4 separate regions of the Homo sapiens genome follow, and regions 1, 2 and 3 are each linked to region 4. Evidence: promoter capture Hi-C in human tissues and cell types (Jung and others, 2019). All regions are on one chromosome and are shown on one strand. Each heading gives the region's core, a stretch centred on a gene start or on the middle of the fragment in contact. The rest is flanking DNA. Distances are from core to core; before and after follow the strand shown. Region 1 overlaps ARHGAP44 (Rho GTPase activating protein 44). Region 2 overlaps MYOCD (myocardin). Region 3 overlaps ARHGAP44 (Rho GTPase activating protein 44). Region 4 holds the start of ARHGAP44 (Rho GTPase activating protein 44).

Region 1 (6,708 bases), core at 2,931-5,430, 120 kb after region 4:
TTGTTTGAGAGGTCAGTGAGGTAAAGCACGTACATGCCTTGTGCAATGTTAACTTAAGTAAATATTAAAGAAGTGTAACCTGATGCTGTTAGCAGTGGCCCGCTATTAGACTGGAGTGGCTGTTGAGAACCACTGAGACCCAAGCATCAAGCCTTGGCTGTGTGTCTGTTTGGGGCTGAACCACAGAAGAGCTGGTTGCCTGGGGCTGGAATTAGAGGACAGTAGACAAGAATTTTCCAAGATAGGGAATATATGAGAGAGAGAGAGAGAGAGAGAGAGAGAGAGAGAGAGAGAGAGGAGAGAGAGAGAGAGTGTGTGTGTGTGTGTGTGTGTGTGTGTGTGTGTGTGTGTGTGTGTTTGGAGGAATGGAGTGGATATTAGAATGAGGCTTATTGTCTGGGTCATCCTACAAACTGTGTTGCTTGTGCCCAAGATAGTTTTAGAGAGAATAGTCATCTCAGAAATGTCAGATTGACTATATCGAAACTCTGGGACAGTCTGTCTTTCCTTCCCTTAATTCTCAAGGTTCTATCTGCATTCTAGAGCTAGGGAGAAAAATTATTTCAGTAGCTCCTCTTTGGCTCTGAAAATCACTGGCAGCATGAAGTTTGCTAAGATCTTTTTACCTGGGCACTAATATTTACCAGGGATTGGGACTGGCTTTGTCAGTGTGGATCCTTGGTACTGGAGGGAAAAAGATTTTGGGAGCTTTTCTAGATTTTTGAGCAATTTAATTCTTCTAAGACTGGATATCCTTTTAAAAAATTTTTAATTAATTTATTTCAATAGGTTTTTGGGGAACAGGTGGTGTTGGTTACATGAGTAAGTTCTTTAGTGGTGATTTCTGATATTTTGGTGCACCCATCACCTGAGTAGTGTACACTGTACCCAATGTGTAATCTTTTATCCCTCACCCTCCTCCCACCCTTTCCCCTGAGTCCCCAGAGTCCATTGTATCATTCTTATGCCTCTGTAGAAGACTGGATATCATTATACTTGAAATGGGGGCGACCAAAGTTTGAGGGAGAGAGCAAACAGTATCTTAGTTAGAGGCAATCTTAGGTTATATGAGATTGCTACAATGCCTGGCATCTCTTGAGCAGATAAAGTCCCTTCACCTTAGAGAATCTTTTTAGAAAGAGAAATCATTTGTAGTCTGTTGTGCGTTACAGTCCATTAACTTCTTCTTACGTACTGTCTTTGATTATGGGGTTGCTAACGCATTTCTTCCTTTCTCTTGTCATTTGGTGGCTTCCTTGTAATTTCTTGATTCTTTTGTTTTTTTTCTTTTTAATTTGAGACAGTCTCGTTCTGTCACCCAGGCTGGAGTGCAGTGGTGCCATCTCGGCTCACTGCAACCTCTGCCTCCCAGGTTCAAGCGATTCTCCTGCCTCAGCCTCCCGAGTAGCTGGGATTACAGGTGCATGCCACCATGCCTGGCTCATTTTTTGTATTTTTAGTAGAGATGGGGCTTCACCATGTTAGCCAGGATGGTCTCAATCTCTTGACCTCATGATCTGCCCACGTTGGCCTCCCAAAGCTCTGGGATTACAGGCGTGAGCCACGGTGCCCGGCCAATTTCTTGATTCTTAAAGCATTTACACAAATAAAAACTCATGTTGATTTTCACCAGCTTACCCCCACCTTGGAATCCAAGCTCTCAAATTCACCTTAACATCTCTCCTCTTAGAGTGACAGTTACACCATTGGTAGGGTACTTGAGTAAATACATTTTGTCATCTTCATTCAATGATCTGTGTAACCATTAAAATAAAAGAACAAGACAGTTCCATAGGTAGTGATAGGAAATGATATGAAAGGTATCTATCTCTATGTGAAAAGGAAAGCAAGGCACAGAGTGGTGTGTATATTTAGTATGCTAACGTGGGGAGAAATACTAAAAGTAGACGCACACACATGTATGTATAATTGAATCTGCTTAGAATATTTATGAAAGGATACACAAAATCTGGTCACTATTAGGGTCTTTGGTGAGGGGAATGAAGTGGTTGAGGGATGAGTGAGTGTGGGAGGGACTTTTTACTATAAATCCTCTAGCATCTTTTAGTTTTATTTATTTATTTATTTTTGAGACGGAGTCTCACTCTGTCACCCAGGCTGAAGTGCAGTGGCACAATCTCAGCTCACTGCAACCTCTGCCTCCCAGGTTCTAGCAATTCTCCTGCCTCAGCCTCCCAAGTAGCTGGGACTACAGGGGCGTGCCACCACACTTGGCTAATTTTTTTTTTTTTTTTTGTATTTTTAGAAGAGACGGGGTTTCACCATATTGGCCAGGCTGGTCTCAAACTCCTGACCTCATGATCTGCCCGCCTCAGCCTCCCAAAGTGCTGGGATTACTGGCAAATTAATTCTTTTCCTATAATAGATATGATAGAGAATGAGATAGGGCAGGAGGGAGAGGTTATGCTCCTTGTTAAAATTAAAAAGCATATCCCTTAAGAATTCACTTAATTCTGTCCTCTCTGCTACCTAAGAGGATGTCAAAATCATTAGTGCAGGTGTTAAATGACTCAAAATGATGAGAAAATGTAGCTTCCTTGGCTCAGGAGCAGGGTGCCTCCAGCCCTATAGCTTCAAACTGTGTTTTCCAGTCTGCACTTTGCAGAACAGTTGCCTGGCTGTCCCCTCTCCATCCTCCCTCCAAAAGTCCGATCAACCTCATGTTCCTCCAGTGGCCGGTCTTGTCCTGTTGATCTTGACCTTCGTTCATTTGGTCCCCCTTGGGCACAGTTTTCTGCTCCACTCACTGACAGGATAATCTGACTAGTCTTTTTCCATATTTGGAAAAACTCTACTTACCTTCTGGTAGATGTATTTCTTCAAAGGATGTCAACTCTTGGACTATCAGAAGTCCCCTTTACTATAGGCAAATCCTCTCTTCTTTGTCCAATTTCAGAAAGATTCAGAAATGCTGAAGTCTTGTCCTGATGGCAGGTCATGGGACTGTGAATGTTTATCACAAACCAGAATGGTCTTTTTATGTGAGCTCATCAATACTATGATCGTACCATCTGACATTCAAGACGAAGCATCTTCACTGACTTGTCACTGAGGTATTGTAGACACTTGCAGATCAAACCAGGTTTCTCAACCATGGCACTATTGCCATTTTGAGCCTAGTAATTCTTTGTTGGAGGAGACTGTTCTGTGCCTTGTAGGATGTTTAGCAACATCCCTGGCCTCTACCCATCAGATGCCAATAGCATCTCCCATGCTGTGCCAATCAGAAATGTCTCCAGATGTTGCCAAATGACCCCAGGAGGACAAAAATCACCCCTGGTTGAGAACCAATACCTTAAGTTATGCCCTCTCTGTGAGGCTACAACTGGAATATTATGCCTGCTTCTCTGAAAAACAGACTCTGTTTGTCTACACTTACATAACACTTCTGTGACCACATGTGTGGGGGGATTTTCTCCACACACCAAGCAGTTCCCCAACTCTCTGAACACCAGGTGTATGTCTTGCAATTTATTCTGACACTGTATACCTGGAGTTGGTGTCAGATCCCGCAGGTTAAGGGCTCAGTCCTACAAGACTGCCCCTACTTAAGATGTCAATTGCAAATCCAGCCTTCTGGTATTTCTCAACAACCAGCTATAAATTAGGGGTCCCACAACTCCCCTCCTCAGGTTTGATAATTTGCTAAAATGGCTCGAAGAACTCAGGGAAACACTTTAGTTGTATTTATCAGTTAGGATATTATAAAGGATACAAATGAACAGCCAGATGAAAAGAGTAAACTTAGGGCAAAGTATGATGATGTTTATTATTTATCTTCACCATTAGAAGTAAGTTCTGTGGCTGGGTGTGGTGGTTAACACCTGCAATCCCAGCACTTTGGGAGGCCAAAGCAGGAGGATTGCTTGAGCCGAGGAGTTCAAGACCAGCTTGGGAAACATAGTGAGACACCATCTCTACAAAAAATTTAGAAATAAAATTAGCCAGGCATGGGGGTGCATGCCTGTAGTTCTAGCTGCTCGGGAAGCTGAGGCAGGAGGATTGCTTGGGCTTAGGAGCTCGAGGCTTCAGTGAGCTATGATTGCAACACTGTGCTCTAGCCTGGGAGATAGGGCCAGACCTTGTATCAAAAAACAAAACAAAACAAACAAAAAAAACAGAAAAAAAGGAAAGAAGAAGAAAAGAGAAAAGAAAAATGTTCTATGAGAGCAGTGTCTAGTTTTGTTTATCACTGGTTTGGTGCCTGCCCTCCATAAATATTGGATTAGTAAATGAATTATAAGTGGAAACGCTCTATGTGTTAACACCAGGAGGCTCTGGGCTGGGTGTAGTTCAGTCACTTTCTTTTTGAAGAACTACCTTTGTAGCTACGTAGACTGGAAGACCTGAGAAGGTGCTAGTGGTTCTTACCTTGTTTTTGTTCTGTCTGTGTGTACTGGCTGGTCTTAGTTCAGAAAGGAGAGAGCTCTTTGATATTTAGCCTGGGGAACGGATCATGCTAAACTCCTATCACAGCTTGTCTCTCCCTCCCTGTAACATAAAATGTAGCATTTAAAAGTGTACAGTGGTTTTAACAGTTAGTCTATTTACCACCATTATCTAGTTCCAGAACGTTTCCATCATCCCCAAAGGGAACCCCATACCCATTAAGCAGTCCTTCCCTATTTTACTCACCCCTGCAGCCCTGTGACAAGCACTAATCTACTTTCTGTCTCTGTGAATTTGCTTATTCTGGATATTTCATTAAATAGATTTATATAATATGTGTCCTTTTGTGTCTAGGTTATTTCACTTAGCATGATGTCTTCAAGATTCATCTGTGTTGTACCATGCAGCATTCCCTTTTTCATGGCTGCATAATGTTCCATTTTATGGATATACCACATTTTGTCTGTCCATTTATTCATTGGTGGACATTTGAGTTGTTCCCACCTTTTGGCCTTTGTGAATAGTGTTGCTCTTCACATTTGTGTACCTCTTTTTTGAACATCTGTTTTCAGTTACTTTGGATATATACCCAGGAGTGGAATTGCTGTGCCATGTGATAATTCTGCTTAACTTATTGAGATACTAAGTACACCTTCACAGTGCTGCACCAGTTTAAACATCTACTAGTAATGCATGAAGGTTTATGCTCACCAATCCTTATTTTTTTTTTGCTTTGTTAAGCATTAATATTATTATAGCCATCTTAGTGAGTGTAAAGTGAGGTCTTGATTGGGGTTTTCCTAATGACTAATGAGGTTAATTATCTTTTCATGTGCTCTTTGGCCATCTATCTTTTTTGGAGTGTGTCTTTATTTTCATGCTTACTCTTTCTGGGTTATAATTGCATGTGAACACTTTTCTGTCTCTTTTTTGACCATAGCTGCCTCATTTCTTTTTTTTTTTTTTTTTTTTTGGAGATGGAGTTTCACTCTTGTGGCCCAGGCTGGAGTGCAGTGGCACAATCTCGGCTCACTGCAACCTCTGCCTCCCGGGTTCAAGCCATTCTGCTGCCTCAGCCTCCCAAGTAGCTGGAATTACAGGCATGCACCACCACACCCAGTTAATTTTTATGTTATTAGTAGAGACGGGCTTTCACCATGTTGGCCAGGTCGGTCTCGAACTCCTGACCTCAGGTGATCCACCCGCCTCGGCCTCTGCCTCATGTAAAGTGCTGGGATTACAGGTGTGAGCCACCACGCCCAGCCACTGCCTCATTTTTAAAATAAGGCTAATACACTCCTTAAGAGACATATTATTTTTGGAAATTAAGGCATTGCTCAAATCTTTGTTAACATCATTTTAAATTTTTCTCATTTTTCCTTCTTGCCATCCTACCTCATTTTAAAATGCAGCATGTAAGCCTTAGGCTTATTTCCCAAAGTGGCAAATATAATTCAGTTCTCGTTTTCTGAATTTTGACATCTCTAAGTCTAACCCATCATGGTGCACTATGAATTTCTATGTTTAAACCTATTTTAAAGTTAGCTTGTTTCATAGTTAATATAATACCTTGGCAAGTATTTGACTTTTTGCTATTTTAGATTCAACAGATGAATATGGAAAGTAGCTTTCATTACAGCATTTGCTTTCTTTTCAGAAAAAGTTGCCTTTGACAACACTGGCTCAGTGTCTGATGGAGGGGTCAGCTATCCTGGGAGATGACACACTTCTTGGGTAAGGTGACACCTTGCGTGAGTTTGGTGCCAAATCTAAGTAAGTCCCCATCCGTGAAAAGGGGACTAGACCCTCTCAGGGAAGCACCTGAATTCTCACTGGGGACTTTAGTGGAAAAAAGGAAAATGTTACCAGTAGGAAATCAGAACTCTTGGCTCTAAAGTCATATTGTCTGTGCGGTGAGGCAAGGCCCAAGTGGAGAGATTAACATGAAACTGATGAAGGACAATTGAAATCCCTAGGGCCCTAGCAGAAGCAAATATGAAACCTGTCAATTCAAATGTCAGAACTTACGAGATTCTCAGAAAAGCAGCCTTTGCCGATGTTGAGCTCACAACAAAACAAACTGAAAATAGAATCGTCATGAGAGAGCATCAGCAGACACAATCAGTAGAAGAGTCAGTACCCTGAGAACGAAAAATAATAGAACTATATGGAAGAAAATATAACAATTATTTAAATGGAAATTTTAAAATTAAAAAACAGAATCCTTGACAAGAGAATCAAACAATATTAAAAAAGAATAGGCGGGATTGAAGGCAAACCAAAGAGAACTTTCCAAAA
Region 2 (6,225 bases), core at 1,684-4,183, 110 kb before region 4:
AAAAAAAGAAATTTCTTTTAAAAGTTAAAAAACTTTAATCCCAACAAGTTGAGAATCAAAACATACCAAAAGTGCTAAAGCACATGCATGGAAAAAAGCCTGGAGGGATCCATTCCCAAAATGATTAGCTCTGGGTGGTGAGATTATCAGTAATTTTTAAATTTTCTTATGTTCTTTCTTATATTCTTGATTACAATTATCCAGTATCTCCTATACTGAGTATTATTTGCCTTTTTTTTTAAGATATGGAGTGATGGGGAGTGGGTTAACAATACCATATTTGCATAGCAGCTAAATCAGGAGTTGGCTGAGGCCATGGGAGGTTTAAGTTGTTCTCAAATTCTCATTAATCCTGGGTCATGCTCACAACTCAAAATACAACCAATGAAACTTGCTTCTTAGCTAAGAGACTGAAAACCCACAACTCTGCTATTAATTTTTGTTGGAAAATCTCAATGTATATGTGGTATAGGTATGCCATCTGGCTGACTTGGCTTCAAATCCTGGCCTCCATCCTTATTGATTGTATGATATGAACTCGAGTGCATGCTTTTAAGCTCTCAACCCTCTACTTTTCTATGTGTAAATGTGGAAACAAGAATGCCTCCTTCATTGGAAATTTTTGAGGTTTTAGTGGAAAAGCATATAAAAAGTGCTTGACATAGTGCAGGGATGTGCTGATGTACTCAATAAATGGTAGCTATCTTATTCACACATGAATATTAATTATACTTTAATTCACACTATGCAGCCATAAAAAAGAACGAGATCATGTCCTTTGCAGGGACATGGTTGGAGCTGGAGGCCATTATCTTTAGCAAACTAATGCAAGAACAGAAAACCAGATACCACATGTTCTCACTTACAAGTGGGAGCTCAGTGATGAGAACACATGGACCCATAGAGGGGAGCAACACATACTGGGGCCTGTCGGAGGGTGGAGGATGGGAGGAGGGAGTGGATCAGGAAAAATAACTAATGGGTATTAGGCTTAATACCTGAGTGATGAAATAATCTGTACAACAAACCCCCATGACACGCGTTTACCTGGGTAACAAACCTGCACATCCTGCACATGTGCCCCTAAACTTAAAAATTAAAAAAAAACTTATAGGCCGGGCACAGTGGCTCACGCCTGTAATCCCAGCACTTTGGGAGGCCAAGATGGGCGGATCACGAGGTCAGGAGATCGAGACCAACCTGGCTAACACAGTGAAACCCCATCTCTACTAAAAATACAAAAAATTAGCCGGGCATGGTGGCGGGCACCTGTAGTCCCAGCTACTAGGGAAGCTGAGGCAGGAGAATGGTGTGAACCCAGGAGGCTGAGCTTGCAGTGAGCCGAGATCACGCCACTGTACTCCAGCCTGGGCGACAGAGTGAGACTCTGTCTCAAAAAAAAAAAAGTGTATATTAATTCTCATATCAATGTTTATATCAATATGCTTTGATATGTTAATTTACAATTATTTATGTTATTATAAGATATCATATTGATTCTAAATTCACAATGACCAGCCTCTCATGAATTTCTCTTAAGATTCACTGCCCAGCTATTATCATTTCTCTTTCTTTTTTGTTTTTTTTTTTTTTTGAGGTGGAGTCTCACTCTGTCCCCAGGCTGGAGTGCAGTGGCAACATCTTGGCTCACTGCAACCTCCGCCTCCCAGGTTCTAGCGATTCTCCTGCCTCAGCCTCTCGAGTAGCTGGGACTGCAGGCGTGCACCACCACGCCCAGCTAATTTTTGTATTTTTAGTAGAGATGGGGTTTCACCATGTTGGCCTGGATGGTCTCGATCTCCTGACCTCGTGATTTGCCCGCCTCAGCCTCCCAAAGTGCTGGGATTACAGGTGTGAGCCACCGCGCCCAGCCTATCATTTCTTTTTACCCCAGATTGTGCTTGAGAGTTATGAAGATAATTATTGTCATTATATAACTTATATTGTATTTTGCAAAGTGTTTTATATATCTATCATCACTTATTCTTTTCCTTTCAAAAAAAAAAAACTGAAAAGGCATAATAATTAAACTTATTCTCCGGTGAGGTGTGGTTTTTATTCTGGATCTGGTCTTTTGATGCCTCTGAAGACAGTGCCAAGCCTTGTCTGGGTCTCAGCAAGATCATTACATGCTATGAGGACCAGCAAAGGCTCATGGCTGAGCCCAGATCCTCTTCTCTTATAATTGAGAATGCTGTTCTGTCTAAATATAAAACCAAAGAGAGAGAGAGAGAGAAAACAAAGTTTTGAGGATAGACAGCTGGAGGCAGTCTGCCAAATTATAGCACCTCTTATTTCTTTGATGTATTCAACTCTCTCCCCCACCAAAAAAGATCATATTCATTAATATTTTTATTTTTTTGTTTTCTTCTTATTATTATTTATTATTATTATTTGAGATGGAGTCTCACTCTGTCACCCAGGCTGGAGTGCAGTGGCGCGATCTCGGCTCACTGCAAGCTCCACCTTCCGAGTTCATGGCATTCTCCTGCCTCAGCCTCTGAAGTAGCTGGGACTGTAGGCACCTGCCACCACACCTGGCTAATTTTTTGTATTTTTTTAGTAGAGATGGGGTTTCAGTGTGTTAGCCGGGATGGTCTCAATCTCCTGACCTCGTGATATTTTTCTACCAATTCTGTGAGATTACAAGTTTGATTGTACAGATGAGGTTACTGAGTTTCCAGAAACATTAAGAAATTGGCTCAAGGTCACCCAGCAGATTCAGACCTAGAACTCTCGTCTCGGGGCTTGCAAAACCAAATTTACCACATGGTCCCCCAGAGAAATGCGCAGCCCAAGGGAACATGGTCTTTTCAGATAGGCAGATGCCTGGCATTTAACCTATTTCCTCTCTCAACCTAACAGTCCGTCTGCTTAAAGCTTTTTTTTTAATTTAATTTTTTATTTTAACATGGTAGCCATCTGCACTGGCTTCAAGATTGAAAGAATTAGATGAGAAGGGGAGATGGAAATTCAGCAAATGTAACTCAGGATTGGCTGGGAGAGGAGGACAGAATGAGGCATAGGGATAGCAAAGGAATCCCTGGCTTAGTAGAAATGCAGCCTTCACAAAGGATTGTGTTCTTAACACATAGATTAGAGCATGACACTACAGAATGTCCCAGAGACAGAAAGTATTCTCAAGCATCATGTTTGGTTGTTTCAAAACCTTGTGTCTAACAGTAGAGCCAGGATTATTTTCTAACATTTAAAGAATGGTTAATATACCTACATTTATATATATGTATATGCATATGTTTGTATATGATATATAACATATATATAGTATGAGAGAGGTAAAGATTATCTTTGAGGATGCTCTTTGCAGTGGTATATGTGCTACAGTAACACCGAGGGAAAAACTGGAGTTGGTTAACAAAAAGAAAATATTTAAATACATAAAAAATGGGATTTAACATGCACTTTAAATATCGTGTTTTCAGAGGATCATGAGATGCAAAGATGTTTACAATGCAAGAAGGAGGTTTCAGAATTGCATATGATATAGTCCCAATTCTTGAGAAATTGTAGGGTAGGTACCTTTTTATATCCATGTTCAGGTATATGAATCAGAAGAAAAAAGGCAAAGTATTAGCAGGTGCTGCTTATCTCTGCAGACTTGAATTCCTATTAATTTTGCCTTTCATCCTGAAACTTTTATACATTTTTCAAATTTTCTATAATGAACACGCACTTGTTTTATAGTCAGAAAAGGCAATACATGCTTTAAATGCTATAATAGAATAGTATATATCACAAGCTTCACTTAGGCTCTCAAAAGAACGTAAACCTGTATTCAAGAACCACAGCCCCATGGAATGAAGACTCTCCTCTTAATTTTAGAAGAACTTCTTTGCCTCATAAAATACACCCTTTCTTCCAAACTCTAATTCTCCTTTATATCTAATTTTTATTCAGCTACTTAGTGGATGCCCACGGTTAACCTCATTAATCTTCGTATGGTAATTTATTAGGGATAAAGGGCTCTTAATTTGACCACTATAATTACCCTAGAGGTGAGTATAATGACGTCTGTCTTACAGGGATGGGAAACTAAGGTATAGAAACGGGAATGACCTGCCCGAATTTACACATACAGCATGGTGAAGCACTTGAACTCAGATCTCCTGGCACCCAATCTTGTGGCCTCTCTCGATGAACAAGCGAACACAAGAAGGCGTAAATCTGAGTCCCTTTGTCTCAGGCATCTCTGCAGCAATAGCTTTCAAGGAACGCAGGTCAAATGGCAGGTCCTTTTCCCGGAGGCCCCTCCCACCGGCCCCGGGCGTGTGTGCGCGCTGTCTGCTTAATTCACTCATGGCTCTGTGCCACAGAATACATAAACAAGTGGGGAAAGCCTCAGAGAGGAATCTTGGTGCCCAAATGGAGCAATTTGTCTTCTGAAATTATTGTTTGAAATTGTTTATGTCAGTTGCCGAGTTTCTGTTCTGTACTTCAGGGACCTGTTTGTGATGGAAGGAAAAGTTCCCCGCGGCTGAACAGCCGTGCTAGTTGAACACTTGTAGTGACAGTGTTGTCAGCTGCTTCCCAGTCCTCCCTGACTTGGAGAGGGTTTTGATGAGGTTCCCTACACCCCAATAGAGCACCCCAAGAACTATCTGATGCTCACATGCCTGCTGCGTGTGCTAACTAATTTAATCCTTACAGCAATCCTGTAAGGAGGTACTGTTGTTACAGTCCTCCCATCCATAGAAGAAGAAACCAAGCCTCCAGCGCTGAAGGAGCTATCTCAAAATCCCATGCCTTGTAAATGGAAAAGCTGGGACTTGATCTCATGCACCTTTGGATTCTAAGTCCATGCTTGTGACTGCTACCCTGTACTGCTTCGCACAAGTATCCGAACCAGTCAGAGCTGGCTTGAGCCATCTGACTTTGCCACCCCATCCTCCCGGTGAGCATGTGAATTGTGGATTCTGCCCTCTTAGTGACATCGTAAGGCATTTCCACTTGAGGTTTTTCTTCCCTATTCCTCTAGTGTCTTGAGTTATTTTAACATGAAAGCCTCAAGCTCACAAACCTGGCAGCTTTGTGAGTGAGAGAGAATTCCTTTTGAGGCATGAATTAGTCTTCTTCAAATGTTTTGACAAACTGAGAGTGTGGTGCTTAGGGAAAGAATAGCTTCGCAGTGTTCGTGTGAACAGACATCTTTCTAAAACAACTTGAGCCCATGCGTGAGGCTCAATCATTGAAATCACTGCATGGTAATTCTGAGACCGAGCCTTTTGGCTTTCAGTATTCTCTTGGTTTTGACTCGCCAAATGCCCAGCACTAGATGCTGGCCTGAATTCATATCTCTTAATCTCCCTAAAGGAAGCAGAGCCGGGACATCCCTTAGGATGAAGAAAGAACAGTGTGTACCTGGTCTCAGCCCCCGCTGCTTGAGTGCTCTCCTGTAAGAGTCACTGAGGCCAGGCCAGCCCAGCACCCCTCAGAGCTCACCTTGTTCCTTGAGACCATCGAGGGCTACCTCAGTGACCTGATCATCATTTTCACCTCGTCCTCTCTGAGTACTCCCTGCAGTAGATGAGCAGACAGTCAGGCCTATGTTATTCTTGGTCAGTGAATACAACAGATAACAGCATGCAGGGCAACATTTGGCTAGGGAACAGTTATCATTGGTACCTGGAATCAGAAGGCAAGGAGCAAATTGAGCTCAGGCATTAGCACTCCACACAAAAATCATCCCTGGCTCTCAGCCTTGTTTGGGAAATGTGGCCAGGATTAGGGCAAGACCGACGCAGATAACCAGGTCTCTCATTTCACCTTCTCCAAGCATTCTGTCAGCCACCCTCTTCTCTTTACCGGGAAATTCGATGCTTCTGTACCCCAAAGAGGAACATGTCAGACCCACAGATGACACGGGCCACTGGTGGGGAACGGTGGCTTTGTCCTAGAGTCAGATAATGCCAGGCAAAGGAAAGAATTTGGTGGGTGAACCATGCACAGGAAGAGCAGAGGAGAGTTGTACATATGATGTGTGCCACACAGTATCAGCTTCCAGCTCTGGAGGAGACCAGAAGCCTCTGATGGTGGTCCTGCTTGTTACTTTCTAGGAAGTTATCCATTCATCAGCCAATAGCTTTCCCAAAGACCTATGCCTGGTAGTGTCCTTGAAGGCAATAATGTCAAGGTCAAAGATTACATATAAGGATGCGTCCAGCTAAACCTAGGGTAGGATTCAACAGAAAAGGGAAGGTAAAAGAC
Region 3 (6,845 bases), core at 1,681-4,180, 70 kb after region 4:
CTTGTTCAATCAACTCTGGCTTCAGGGATGAGAGTTGTCACATTGTCTCTGGGGTGGCTGCTTCCAGAGGTTTTAGGGCAGATGAATCTCAAGTCTGTTGAGCATGGCAGATAAATACCCTTCTTCTCTGCTTCCCTACAGGTAGGCTTAGAGCAATAATTTTCTACTATTTTTTAAAAGCAGTATGACTATATGTAGGAAAATATCGGAAGTTGGCCCTAGGCAATTGTGAAATAAGGGAAGTTTATTTTTGCATGCCTGTCCTCACTATCTTTCCCCATAGAAGTTTTTATTTGGGGATTGCCTGCATTTCTAAACTTTTGAAAGGCTGTTATAACATACGGGTTATGAAAGTGACCTCTGAGGTCAGACTGGGTTCCTAATCTGCTTCTCCAAGCTTTGTGACCTTGGACAAGTTTTGTAAGCTTGCCAAAACCTCAATTTCCCCATCAATAATATGATGTTATTAATAGTCCTGACCTCAGGGGTTGTTGTGAAAGTTAAATGAATGTCGAGCTTTAACAATCTGATGCTTAGTGAAAGCTTAATGTTTGTTTTGGTGCTTTCTAATGAATAAAGACCCTGATCATGATAATGCATTCTTGTTGCTCTTTCTGTGTATCCCTGTCCTTTCCCACATTTTGAGATTTACTTTCTGTAGTTTGTATTCTGAAAATAATATGTCATTAGAAGTATAATGAACATACTTTTTTCAAGCAAAATTTCTCTCTTCCCACCTCTTGCCACATTTTAGATATATATAAATTGCCTCAGCACTTTAAACCTCAATGACATGTTGCTAATTAGTGCAAAGCCATTAATCATCATACAGACCTCTGTTCCAAGTCCCTGGCAATCCACTTTCATCTCCTTCTCCTGGGTGCTTGTTCATGTGCAAGGATCTGGTTAAATCCTTCCTGCTTAGGCCGAAGTGGCTGATGAGGTCTGCGTTAGTTCATTTTCTGTTGCTTTAACTGAACACCACAGACTGGGTATTTTATAAAGAATAAAGAGGGTAATTTATAAAGAATAGAGGTTGATTTAGCTCATGGTTCTGGAGGCTGGGAAGTCTAAGAGCATGGAACTAGCATCTGGTGAGGCCCTTCATGCTGTGTCATAACATGGCAGAGGGTGTTACATGCAAGAGAGCAAGAGTGTGCATGTCAGCTCAAGACACTCTTCCTCATCTTATAAAGCCACCAGTCCTATCATGGGAGCCCCATCCTGATGACCTTATCTAGTCCTAATTATCTCCCAAAGGCCCCACCTCCAATCAACATAATGAATTTGGGAATTAAGTTTCCAGCACATGAAAGTTGGGGAAGAAAAAGATGGCCTTCCCATGCAGTTGTCCTGGTGAAGTTATTCTATTATGGTAGAATAGCTTGGAGCTAGATGTCTTTTATAGGAAATGACTAGTGACCGTATTTTCCATAACAGGATACCCCAACCACCACAAACTTTATTGCTTCGGTTGCCCATGTTATTTATTTATTTATTTATTTATTTATTTATTTATTTATTTATTTATATCCTGCCCCATTCCAAAGGGGACTTGCAGATTTAGTTAGCAGATATCACTAGGTGTTGCTAAAGATTATGTCTGATTTGGGACAAGATCTGCTTTTGGGGACTTGGATCACTAATAAGCTAGACCACCTTAGCCACTATTAGTGGCTTGAGGATTGGCTGCCACTAATCCTGCTCATCCCCTTACCACTGATACTCTTGTGCAAGGAACCCAGTAGGTTCTTGTATATGTATATTTTGAGATACCAGCATTTACTCGCAGTTGGAAGGAAGAACAGGACTAAGTCTTATGCCAAGTCTGTAGTAAGCCTTTGGCTACGTATTAGTCCATAGTGTGTGGGCACAGAAATCCTGTGAATGGAAAGTTCCAACCACGTCTGCTATTCTGAAGACACCCAGGTCAGCCAAATATGGGAACTGTGTATATAGCAACCCCATCTCCTTCCCTTTCTTTACCTACCCTGCCCTCTGTTAGTCATGTGGACTCTAAAATCCTCCAACCACACCCCTACTCACTGTCACCTCAGTTACCTGGGATGGATGATTAAGAAAGTCTGCAGATTACTGGCTGCAGTTGTGACCACATTGGCTTGGATCTTGCAGGTGTGCAAGGATTCTTTTGTATCTGTAAGCATGAGGTCAGACTAAATCAACCTTCTCAGGCCCTTTTCAAAAAGTTTAAGTCCACAGCCTTATCTGGGCATTTTGGGTTTTACCTTGAAAGTAGCAAAAGGGGGCAAATTAGGATAAACTAAAGAAAAATAACTCCCAGGGATAGGAAGCTCTTACAGGTTTGTGGGCTGAATTGTATCTCCCCTAGAAGATGTTGAGGACCTAATCCCCCAGTATCTGTGGATGTGAGCTTATTTGGAAACAAGGTCTGTGCAGATGACTAAATTGAGATGAGGCCATTAGAGTGGGCCTTTGTATTAGTACATTTTCATGCTGCTTATAAAGACATACCCAAGACTGGATAATTTATAAAGAAAAAGAGGTTTAGTGGACTCACAGTTCCACATGGCTGGGGAGGCCTCACAGTCATGGTGGAAGGTGAAAGGCACGTCTTACATGGTGGCAGGCAAGAGAGAATGAGAGCCAAGTGAAAGGGGAAACCCCTTATAAACCATCAGATCTCATGAGACTTACTACCACGAGAACAGTATAGGGAAAACTGCCCCCCATGATTCAATTCTCTCCCACTGGGTCCCTCCCACAGTGAATGGGAATTATGGGAGCTACAATTCAAGATGAGATTTGGGTGGGGACACAGCCAGACCATATCAGCTTTAATCCAATATGACTGTGGATCCTTATAAAAATGGGATATTTGGACACAGAGACAGACATGTGCTGTGAGAAGATGACGTGACAACATAAGGAGAATGCCATCTACGAGCCAAGGAATGCTTGCAGCCACCACGAGCTAGGCGAGAGGCCTGGGACAGATTCTCCCTCACAGCCCTTGGAAGAACCAACCCTGCTGACACCTTGAATGTAGACTTCTGGGCTGCCAAACTGTGTGGCAATAAATTTCTGTTATTTAAGCCACCTAGCATGTGGTACTTCATTATGGCAGCCATAGGGAACTAATACAGGAGCCTTTTATAAGTCCTAGATCTGCCCCCTTTTTCCTGGCATGAACCCGTTTCTCCATCAGTCAGTGTGAAAAGCCATCTTCTCATCATCACTTAAGATTTCGAGTTTGCTTTACTGCCCACATTTTGGTTTGGCGCTGGGGCCTAAAGATTGTTTCCTGACTCTTCTGTTATTCTCTCTTAATATTTCCTGAGATGTCTCATTGTTATTCTTGTTGAGTCATATCTGCCATCTTTTGCTGTTCTATAAATGTACCCAGGACTTGTTTGGAGCAGGTATAATACACACAGATGCAAAAACGATTGCCAGGAAGGAAGAAGTGTTTTATTACATTCGCAGTCGCCAAGAAACAGTAAGCACATGAGCCCATTCAGGGCCACACGGGAAAGCACCAAAGCCACATGAGCAGGCACGGAAAGAGGGAGCTGCACGCATTAGCCTTGATTGCAGTTAACACCGAAAGGAGTGGGCAAAGCAAAGTCAACACGTGGCAGAAGTTCACTGTCAAGCTTAAATCTCTGTGGTTCATGAAAAAAAAATTTACTATGAAGCAGGCTCTGGGCTATAGGGGTGGTCCCTAGTTGTACCTGGCTCCGTGGAGATTAGGGCAGAAGAACTGCCTAGCAGAAAAGCAGACTCCTGGAGGGCTGGACTCCAAGTAGTTGGTTGGCATATCAAAGGCATGCCCACAAGTGAGTTACTTGTTACCTCTAGGAATTAATTAATCCTGGGAGGGGCAGTTTCTTTGGTCCACAGACTCCAAATGCCACAGCATCAAGAATATAGAAAGTAGGAAAATATAATTAATACATTGACATTATCCAGCTGTTCAGTTTTATATAGCTATTCTTCCCTCCCCACTTCAATTTATACTTTAAAGAATTCCTTATAAGGTCAACAAGGCTCCTGACAATAGCATTTGCGATATACCCTCTTGTCTCTTGTCAGATAACTGTCTGGAAAGTGCAGGCTTGTTATATAGCACCCTCTATCCATGGATTTTGGCTGTTCCATTTATTGGTGTTTCCTCTTTCTTCAAAAGCTGTGACCTTCAGAGGGAAGCAAAGTTGGAATGTCATCAGTAGCCTAAGTTTTATCTCCAGCATTTCCAGTGCTAGGCAACATGGTGAAGCTCTATCTCTACAATATCTACAGATACATCTATTGATATATCCAGGGTTTTTTCTGGCCCTCTCATTTGTCCTCATATAGATTGGATATCTTTTTTATTTTCCTGCTTATTTTCCATTCCCCATTTCTCTGGTTATAGCCCCTGGTTTTCTTCAAGGAGCTATCCCTTCCCTACTCTTGAGCCGTGTGGTGTAAGTGGGACTAACTTCACCCTTTGATTCAGGGAAGGGATGTGACTTGGGTCTAGCCAAAATCATTGATTCACGCAGAGCAGGTGAATCAAATTGGACCAATCGGTATATGGTTTTTTTCTATTCTTTTTTTTTTTTTTTTTTTTTTTGAGACAAGGTCTTGCTCTGTCACTCTTGGTGCAGTGGTATGATCTCAACTCACTGCAACCTCCACCTCCAGGGTTCAAGTGATTCTTGTGCCTCAGCCTCCTAAGTACCTGGGACTACAGGTACGCACCACCATGCCCAGCTAACTTTTGTATTTTTGTAGAGATGGAGTTTCACCATGTTGGCCAGGCTGGTCTCGAACTCCTGGACTCAAATGATCTGCCCACCTCGCCCTCCCAAAGTGTTGGGGTTACAGGCGTGAGCCACTGCACCTGGCTAATTTTTGTATGTTTATAGAGGTGGAGTTCCGCCATGTTGGCCGGGGTGGTCTCAAACTCCTGAGCTCAAGCGATCTGCCTACCTTGGCCTCCCAAAGGGGTGGGGTTACAGGCGTGAGCCACCGTGTGCCTGGCCATGGTATATTGTTTTTCTATTCCTGCTATGATAAATTATCACAAACTTAGTGACTTTAAAACAACACAAATTTATCATCTTACAGTTCTGGAGGTCAGAAGTCTGGCACAGGTCTTAACTGGGCTAAAATCAAGATGGCAGCAGGATGTTGCTGCTCTCTGGAGGCTCTAGGGGAGAATTAGTTTCCCTGACTTCTCAGGTTTCTCTGGAGGCAGCCCACTTTGTTTGCCTTGTGGCCCCTTCCGCCGTCTTCAAAGCCAGTAGCACTGGGTTGTGCTGTCCTCATACCACATCGCTCTGATCCTTCTTTGGTCACATCTCCCTCTGAATTCCTCTTCTGCCTCCTCTTCCACTTTTTTTTTTTTTTGAGATGGAATCTTGCTCAGTCGCTGGAGTGCAGTGGCGCAATCTCGGCTCACTGCAACCTCCGCCTCCTGGGTTCAAGCGATTCTCCTGCCTCAGCCTCCCGAGTAGCTGGGACTACAGGTACCCACCACCACGCCTGGCTAGTTTTTGTATTTTTAGTAGAGACAGGGTTTTGCCATGTTGGCCAGGCTGGTCTTGAACTCCTGGCCCCAAATGATCCACTCGCCTCAGCTTCCCAAAGTGCTGGGATTACAGTAGTAAGCCACTGTGGCTGGCCTTCCTCTTCCACTATTAAGGACCCATGGGTGACACTGGACCCACCTGGATCATCTGCAGACTCTGCTTATCTCAGTGTCTATCTGAACCATCTTCAAAGTCTCCTTTGCCATGTAAGGTAACATATTCAGGGTGCTGGGAATTAGGATGTGGACTTTTGGGAGGCGGGGCATTATTTTGTCTACTACAGTCAGTGAGATTCAACTCTGGGACCTTGGCTGGGTCCCTTGGGATTCCTGAGCAGATGGGCTTTCAACCTGAAGCTGCTGTCAGCCACCTTGGATCTGTGAGGGGAGAGTCTGCCAAAGAATGGAGTCAACCTTAAGAAAAACAGACCTGAGAGACACGGGGAGCAAGACCATGTCTCAGTGTTGTCCTTAGGGCCACTAAGGCCAACTCTACCCTTGCACGTTTTAGTCATTGAGTCAATCAATTGACTGCCACCATCATTACATGTGTCCTCCTCCTGAGTTGGTAACGCAGGCACAACATAAATGAATTCCTCCTTCATTGTCCTTTGGAGCATAGGGGGCAGCCTTTTATCAAAAACATCTGCATTGATGACCCACAGACAGAGTGTCATGGTGGCACATTGTTCCAGTACTGGAAATTCTGCTTCTTTCTTTCCCAGGGATCATAATCTTTCAGGTTCTTACCAGGTCTTTCATCTGTGAAATGATGGGGTTGGATGTACAGAGTGTTCTTGGTATCTACATATGAATGTTCATTATACTTGCACGGGATGGCTGAGCTGGTAGAATCCTTTTTAAGATGATTGGGGCCAGGTGCAGTGGCTCAGGCCTATAATCCCAGTACTTTGGGAGGCTGAGGTGGCAGGATCACTTGAAGCCAGGAGTTCGAGACCAGCCTGGACAACATAGTGAGATCCTGTCTCTATAAAAATACAGTTTAAAAAAATGAGCTGGGAGTGGTGGTATACACCTGTAGTTCCAGCTACTCAGAAGGCTGAGGTGGGAGATTGAGGCTGCAGTGAGCCATGATTGTGCCACTGCACTCCAGCCTGGGCCACAGAGTGAGACCCTGTCTATTAAAAAAATAAAATAAAAAAAAAGGCCGAGCACAATGTCTCATGGCTATAATCCCAGCACTTTGGGAGGCTGAGGCAGGAGGGTCGCTTGGGCCCAGGAGTTTGAGACCAGCCTGGGCAACAAAGTGAGACCTCGTCTCTGTGAA
Region 4 (6,630 bases), core at 3,324-5,823:
ACAAAATCACCTAATAATGTATTTCTCAGAACATATCCCTGTCATTAAGTGACACATGAGGTTATTCTGAATTCTGTTCTGTAGACCAGCCCTGTCCAATGGAGCTTTCTATGATGATGAAAATGTTATTTTACATTCTCTACTACGGCAGCCACTAGCCACATGTAGTTATTGGGCACTTGAAATGAAAAACTGAAATTTTTGTTTTATTTAACCTAATTTAAAATAATATTTAAGTAACCACATGTAGCTAATGATTCCCATGTTGGCCAGGTGGCTCTAGTGAATGCTTGCTCTCAGAGTAGAGGTTAAAACCATTCTAATTCAGGGGATTCTAAATGGAGTATCAGATTTCTAAGGGAACATATCTCAGACAAATAGTACTACAATGTTGCTGAAGCAAGTAAGAAGCCCATATATTGTTGACCAAAGCAAGTGACAAGGTCAAAGTCAAGGTCAACAGGAGCAGGGAAGTGTAATCTTCCCATAGGTCAAAGCTAGGTATATAAGACATAGAAATTTCTTTCTTCTTTTCTCCTCTTCTTTCCCCTTCCCACCGTCCTTCCTCACCTCCTCCTCTTCTTTTGCAAATACATTTAAATTTTATATTAAGTCTATTCTTCTAGGTGGCAAAAATTAAGTTTTAGGCAATTCCATCTCCATCTTGGCCAATGCTGCCTCCTCCTCCTGATCATCATCTTTGATCTCAATAGCTTTCACATCCAGCTGTTTCAGGTACATTTGTGTATCCTCACAGCACACATGCAGACACCAAATCATCGCACATGGCTTGGGTGCAGGGAGCTCTGGGGCTGCCACTAGCCTGTGGTATGGGTACCTGAGGCACTTCATATAGATGTCTTACTGGTCCTCTGTCTTAGAAGGCAGAGGATCTCCACAAGCTTGGCCATGCCTAGCCTTCACTCCAGGAGTGGTGTACAGCTTCTCCACTGTGCTCAGATGCCCCAAAACGATATGATATATCTGTCTTCAGTCTGCCTGCCCCCAACCTAATTGTTGACCATGGGTAAAAGCAAGGTGCATGCTACTTTCTCAGAGAAACCCACTGTAGCAGTCAGCTTAGACTCAATTATGTTACAGCAACAAACCTCTGATTTAAAACAGCAAAGATACCTTTTGCTGGGGGGCCACATCACTGTTCCACAGCATCCCCTAACTGGTTCATTGGCAGCGTTAAGAAGAAGAGGGCAGGATCACAAAATGACTCCTGAAACTTCTGCCCTCAGAAGAAGCGTAAAAGTCACCTCTGTGCATATTCATTGTTCAAAGAAAATCACATGACCGATCTTTACCTCAACAGTAAGGTAAAATAGAGTCCTTCCCATAGGGATTGGCAGTGAAATTTTTTGGGCATTAATAGTATCTGCACAAGCATCATCTACTTTTCTTCTCTCTTTCTCTCCCGCTTTCCAGTCCCCATCACCATCTTCAACATCTCACAGCCTGTAGGTTCTTTATTTAGACTAAGCAGGATGATATATGCTTTATAATCTACTATTTCTGACATAGACTATTAAAGCTCCAAAGCCTGTATTCTGGAAACTCAAAACTCTTTTCTTGAAGAACTCTATTCTGTCACATGTGTTTCTGAAGCTCTTGTTTCTGCACTATTATCCCTTCCCCGGGGTAGAAAGCAGAAAATGTACTAGCTGCTTCCTGAGTGAAGGAAGCATTCAAAGGAAGACAGAAAATCTGTGGAGAAGCCACCAGTTAATAAAACATTATTGGACCACACTCTGGCAGGGGAGGCTGCCAAAGGGATTTCCCTTTGGAACGGAAAAATCTTGGGATTGAAGGCAGGGGCTGGCATGATATTGGAGTTGGCTACCAGAGTTCTTGAGGATTAGTGCTAACAAGTAGAACTTTCTGAGAGGATAGTAATGTTCTTTATCTGTGCTGTCCAGTACAGTAGCCTTTAGCCACATGTGGCTCTTAAGTACTTCGAATGTGACTTGGGTGACCGAGGAACTAAATTCTGTTTTTATTTTATTTTATTTTTTATTAAACTTTAAGTTCTGGGATATGTGTGCAGAACGTGCAGGTTTGTTACATAGGTATACACGTGCCATGGTGGTTTGCTGCACCCATTAACCCATCATCTATATTAGGTATTTCTCCTAATGCTATCCCTCCCCTTGCCCCTACCCGCGACAGGCCCCGGTGTGTGATGTTCCCCTCCCTGTGTCCATGTTTTCTCTTTGTTCAACCCCCACTTATGAGTGAGAACATGCGGTGTTTGGTTTTCTGTTCCTGTGTTAGTTTGCTGAGAATGATGGTTTACAGCTTCATCCATGTCCCTGCAAAGGACATGAACTCATCCTTTTTAATGGCTGTATCCATGTCCCTGCAAAGGACATGAACTCACCCTTTTTTATGGCTGCATGGTATTCCATGGTGAAAATGTGCCACATTTTTTTTTATCCAGTCTATCATTGATGGGCATTAGGATTGTTTCCAAGTCTTTGCTATTGTGAACAGTGCCACAATAAACATACATGTGCATGTGTCTTTATAGCAGAATGATTTATAATCCTTTGGGTATATACCCAGTAATGGGATTGCTGGGTCAAATGGTATTTCTAGTTCTAGATCCTTGAAGAATTGCCACACTGTTTTCCACAATGGTTGAAGTAATTTACAATCCCACCAACAGTGCAAAAGTGAGGAACCAAATTTTGAACTTTAATTAACTTAAATTGCAACAACCACATGTGGCTAGGGGATACTATATTCAACAGTGCAGTTCTGGAAGTTACCAGAGATAGTGTTGCTAAAAGTCATACAGTGACCTTAATGTCTTACCGTTTATACACATAAAAAGCATGTTGTACTTTGCTTTTTAAAAAATCTCAAAATGGAAATAATTTCACTTAATATAGACATCATATTGACATTATAGGTACAGCATAGTTGGTTAAAAGCAAATAATGCCTTCATTTATTCACTGGCTGGAGTTGTCTGACCTAATAAGCAGAGGCTAAATTCACAATTAATTAAAGATTTCATGTTCATTCAGCCAAGACATGCCTCAAACCACTTTTTGTTCAGCTAGCCAGCAAGATACTTAGAGCCATATTTAGGACATCTTGCAACTATAATCAACATATGCAAAATATCCTATTTCAAAGAAGATCCTTCCTTTATAAGATTAGTAATTCTGTTGTATGAACAGGATTTTTCTCTATTATGCTAAATATAATCATTTTGTAGTAAATGAATACGGCAATGTACTATATGAAAATTTATATGTAATTTGATTATTGTAATTTAACAAATAGTTCTCTTACTGAAGATCAGGCAGCATATTTTTCTATTTAGGGATGAGGAAACAGAGGTTTGGAGAGGTTAAGCTGTTTTCCTAAGGTTATATAACAGGTATGTGGAATTCTGATGCAGGAACTCCTATCTGTTTAATCCAAAGTGCCTCACACCCAACAATACTGCTTTTACTTGATATATAATGATAAAACCTTGATATATAATGATAAAACCTAACTGCAATCACCAATCTTTTTCTTTTTTTTCTTTTCTTTTTTTTTTGTTTTTTGAGATGGAGTCTAGCTCTGTCACCCAGGCTGGCGTGCAATGGCGCGATCTCCACTCACTGCAACCTCCACCTCCCAGGTTCAAGCTATTCTCCTGCCTCAGCCTCCCAAGTAGCTGGGATTACAGGTGCCCGCCACCACGCCCAGCTAATTTTTGTATTTTTAGCAGAGACAGGGTTTCACTGTGTTGGCCAGGCTGGTGTCGAACTCCTGACCTCGTGATCCACCCTCCTTGGCCTCCCAAACTGTTGGGATTACAAGCGTGAGCCACCGCGCCCGGCTCACCTATCTTTTTCTAAGGATAGAGACCAAAGAAGCCACAACCCCTTCCAAGGAGTCAACTGACGCCAATGGGATGCTGTGGTGCAGGACACTTGGGGGGTGCTGCAGCTGATGCCCCTTGGTCTCCTGGTGGTGGAAGGGAAATGGGACTAGATACGAGATTGGCATCTAAGCCATACAAAAAAGCTGTCTCAGACAGGTTGGGCCAGTAAGCACAACGTCACTTATCTATATTGGCTTCTGGTTACCTAATGGGTTTGGTTTGGTAAAAATTAAGAATCAGACTTCTGGGATGCAAGCTATGCCTGTTCAAAATCTGCTGTCAGCCCCTGTGTTTCAAGCTTAACCTTGAACCTCATCATTAATCAGGTGACCTTAGACCGTTTTATCAGCCACGTATCTGCTAGCATAAATCTCCCTTCTGTGAATTCAGAACACTGATACCTCACATTCACTAAAAATACAATGAGAGACAGATGCTCACTTTCTTTATTTGCTGTTGTATTCTTGGTCCCACTTTGCCATTTTTAAAACAGGAAAACGTTTCCCTTACTCGAACGCTAAAGTGCAAAGCTGCTGGTGACGCTGCCTTCTCCCACCTCCGCACTCCACTGTCCTTGCAAACTTTGGACAGAGGAAAGGTGGGCACGGGGCGCGAAACTACAAGTCCCGGCATGCACGGCGTTCTCCGCACAGGCGCACGGGGACCGCCGGGCCAGCCGGCCAGCCAGCCTGCGGAGACTCCCGGGTCCCCGCGCCGGACTGGGACTGGGAGCAGGCAGCCCGGGCGGAGCGGGCCGGTGCCGAGGACGGCCCCAGGCATTGCTCTGCCCCGGGCATTGCGCGGCGCGCGTGAGGGGGATGCGGCAGGAGGCGGCGCGGCGGGAGGAGTAGGCGGCGGCGCCCTCGGGAGGGAGCTGCGCGCGGGCCAGACGGCGCCCGGAGGCTCCGCAGTGCCGCCGCCGTCGCCCGGGAGGCTCCGCGCGGGAGCCATGTAACCCTGCGGCGGGCTCCGGGCTGCTCCGTCCTTCCCCAGCTCCCGGGCTAGCGCGGCAGCGGGGCCACGATGAAGAAGCAGTTCAATCGCATGCGCCAGCTGGCCAACCAGACGGTGGGCAGGTAGGTCACCCGCGGGCACCGCTGTCGGTGCGCGCCCGCGAGGCTGCATCCGCAGGGGCGCGCAGGTGATGGAGCCCGCCCAGCCTCCAGTCCTCCTTGCCTCAGTCCTTTCCCCTGCACCAGCTCCCTCCAGGCGCCGCTCGCAGGCGCGACCCCTCCTCCCTAACTTCCCAGACCCCGGAGCTCTTCTCACTCGCCGCCTTCTGCTCCGGGCTCCGGTTGCCAAGCGCAAAGTGTGACGCATCCTTTACCTGCGTCCCCGGCTGCCCCTTCGCTTCGTCCTCCCTGCCTTTCCCCGGGACTCCCTTCTCCCTCTGGCCGCCTGTCTTCCTGGAAACAGGTGTTTGCTCTGATTGTGCTGGAGGCAGCCGAACCGCAGTCGGTCTCCGGAGATCTCTTCCCTCCCCTCCCCTGCGCCGAGTTCAGGGCTGCTCCCGGGTCCAGGGAAAGTGCTGGGCCTGGTCGGCCTGCCCCTCCCGCCGTGTTTGTTTTCAGGGACTATGACTGTACGAGATTCTGGATCACTTTCCTGGCCGGGTTTCTTAAGGCGTTTGGTGGGGGGAAAGGGTGAGGGGTGGGAGAGGAAGGAAGGTGCTGGTGGAATGGCGTTGCTGCCTGCTTGATGTTAGGACTGATTTCAGTGGAGGGAGGGAGGCTGCAAAAAGGAGGCCCAAGTCCTCGGGAAGATGAGATAAGCAGAGAATCGCAGCCAGGTAGGGGAGGGGGACAGAGGCCCCACAGTCAGAAGAGTCAGGCCCCGGGAAGCTGCAAGACCCCGCCTGCTGCCATCACGGTGAAAATGGGCTACATCTGGACTCCAGGAGCGGCTCTGCAGGGTGCCAACATCTATTAAGGTTACATAAAAATCCTGGTGGGTCGCTCCCAAGACTAGACATTCTTTGAACACAGGAGCGTTAGGTAGAAGGGATTTTTCCTGGAACCCCTACTCCTGGGGAGGGATTTCCGTTGCTGCTGTGGCAAAGGAATTCAGGTGTGCTGTTCTAAAGCAATCAGAAAGCAAAGAATCCAGCCTTGGGTGCAGTTCAAATGCAAGCTCAACACCTCGAGGGCTCTCCACTAGGTTTACGGAGAAACCGAATACCTTTCTTGGGTGGGAAGTGGAGCCTGAACTGGCATCTGGTAGGATGGGGGTGGGGACATCCCTGGGGAATAGGGGACATCTGAACTCCCGTCTGAGCATACTGCCCTAGTTACAGTGGGCATTTGAGGGCAGGGGATGCGGTGGCTTCTTATGCTTCCAGGGACTCCAGATGGTTTCCAAGTAACAATGTCTAAAATTGACTTGGATTCATTTTTCCTTCCCAAACACATGTGCTTTAACATGAGGGGGAATTTATGAATAGCAGAGTCAGATTAGCCCAGATTTCTGGCATGGTATTGCCACAGATATAGCCTCACGTGGACTGCCTTTTGATGTGTTGGATGCCGAGATAGTGTTTCCTGGTATTCGTTGTTTAGCAGATGACAGTCAAGCCGACCCGTCTTTAATGTCTTGGCTTCTTCGTCACCCTGCAGGCGGGCATTGGCCATCACCTCAGACCAGCCAAGTGACCAGGAGGCCCCTGACACTAGACTTGGGTTGCTGGTTTCTCTTGGTCTTGGGGTTTCAGTGCCGTGCTAGAATCTAAATGTTCAGAACATG

Evidence for each region. The method cuts DNA at HindIII sites, captures the fragments that hold promoters and counts their contacts. A contact is called where the count stands out against the background at its distance.
Region 1: a fragment that was not itself captured here is called in contact with the fragment with the promoter of ARHGAP44 in region 4 in 2 of the 25 tissues and cell types used here (heart left ventricle and spleen).
Region 2: a fragment that was not itself captured here is called in contact with the fragment with the promoter of ARHGAP44 in region 4 in 2 of the 25 tissues and cell types used here (aorta and dorsolateral prefrontal cortex).
Region 3: a fragment that was not itself captured here is called in contact with the fragment with the promoter of ARHGAP44 in region 4 in 4 of the 25 tissues and cell types used here (dorsolateral prefrontal cortex, lymphoblastoid cells, spleen and 1 more).

The regions. Positions count from the first base shown.
Region 1 is chr17:12,902,830-12,909,537 of GRCh38, forward strand. It overlaps ARHGAP44 (Rho GTPase activating protein 44), which reads left to right. Exons shown (of 21, transcript NM_014859.6): 4 at 6,068-6,144. Among named protein-coding and RNA genes, the nearest start is that of MIR1269B, 11 kb to the right of the region's middle. The HindIII fragment of the contact is 7,296 bases long and covers 533-6,708 here.
Region 2 is chr17:12,676,318-12,682,542 of GRCh38, forward strand. All of the region lies in intron 1 of MYOCD (myocardin), which reads left to right. The region is part of intron 2 of MYOCD-AS1 (MYOCD antisense RNA 1); the gene reads right to left. Among named protein-coding and RNA genes, the nearest start is that of MYOCD, 14 kb to the left of the region's middle. The HindIII fragment of the contact is 4,406 bases long and covers 731-5,136 here.
Region 3 is chr17:12,856,283-12,863,127 of GRCh38, forward strand. All of the region lies in intron 1 of ARHGAP44 (Rho GTPase activating protein 44), which reads left to right. Among named protein-coding and RNA genes, the nearest start is that of MIR1269B, 58 kb to the right of the region's middle. RefSeq lists an enhancer at 3,390-3,729. The HindIII fragment of the contact is 5,749 bases long and covers 57-5,805 here.
Region 4 is chr17:12,784,925-12,791,554 of GRCh38, forward strand. ARHGAP44 (Rho GTPase activating protein 44) reads left to right here and starts at 4,574. Exons shown (of 21, transcript NM_014859.6): 1 at 4,574-4,967. The coding sequence starts at 4,915. ARHGAP44-AS1 (ARHGAP44 and MYOCD antisense RNA 1) reads right to left here and starts at 5,360. Exons shown (of 2, transcript NR_104607.1): 1 at 5,219-5,360. RefSeq lists a silencer at 4,501-4,850. The HindIII fragment of the contact is 5,339 bases long and covers 2,546-6,630 here.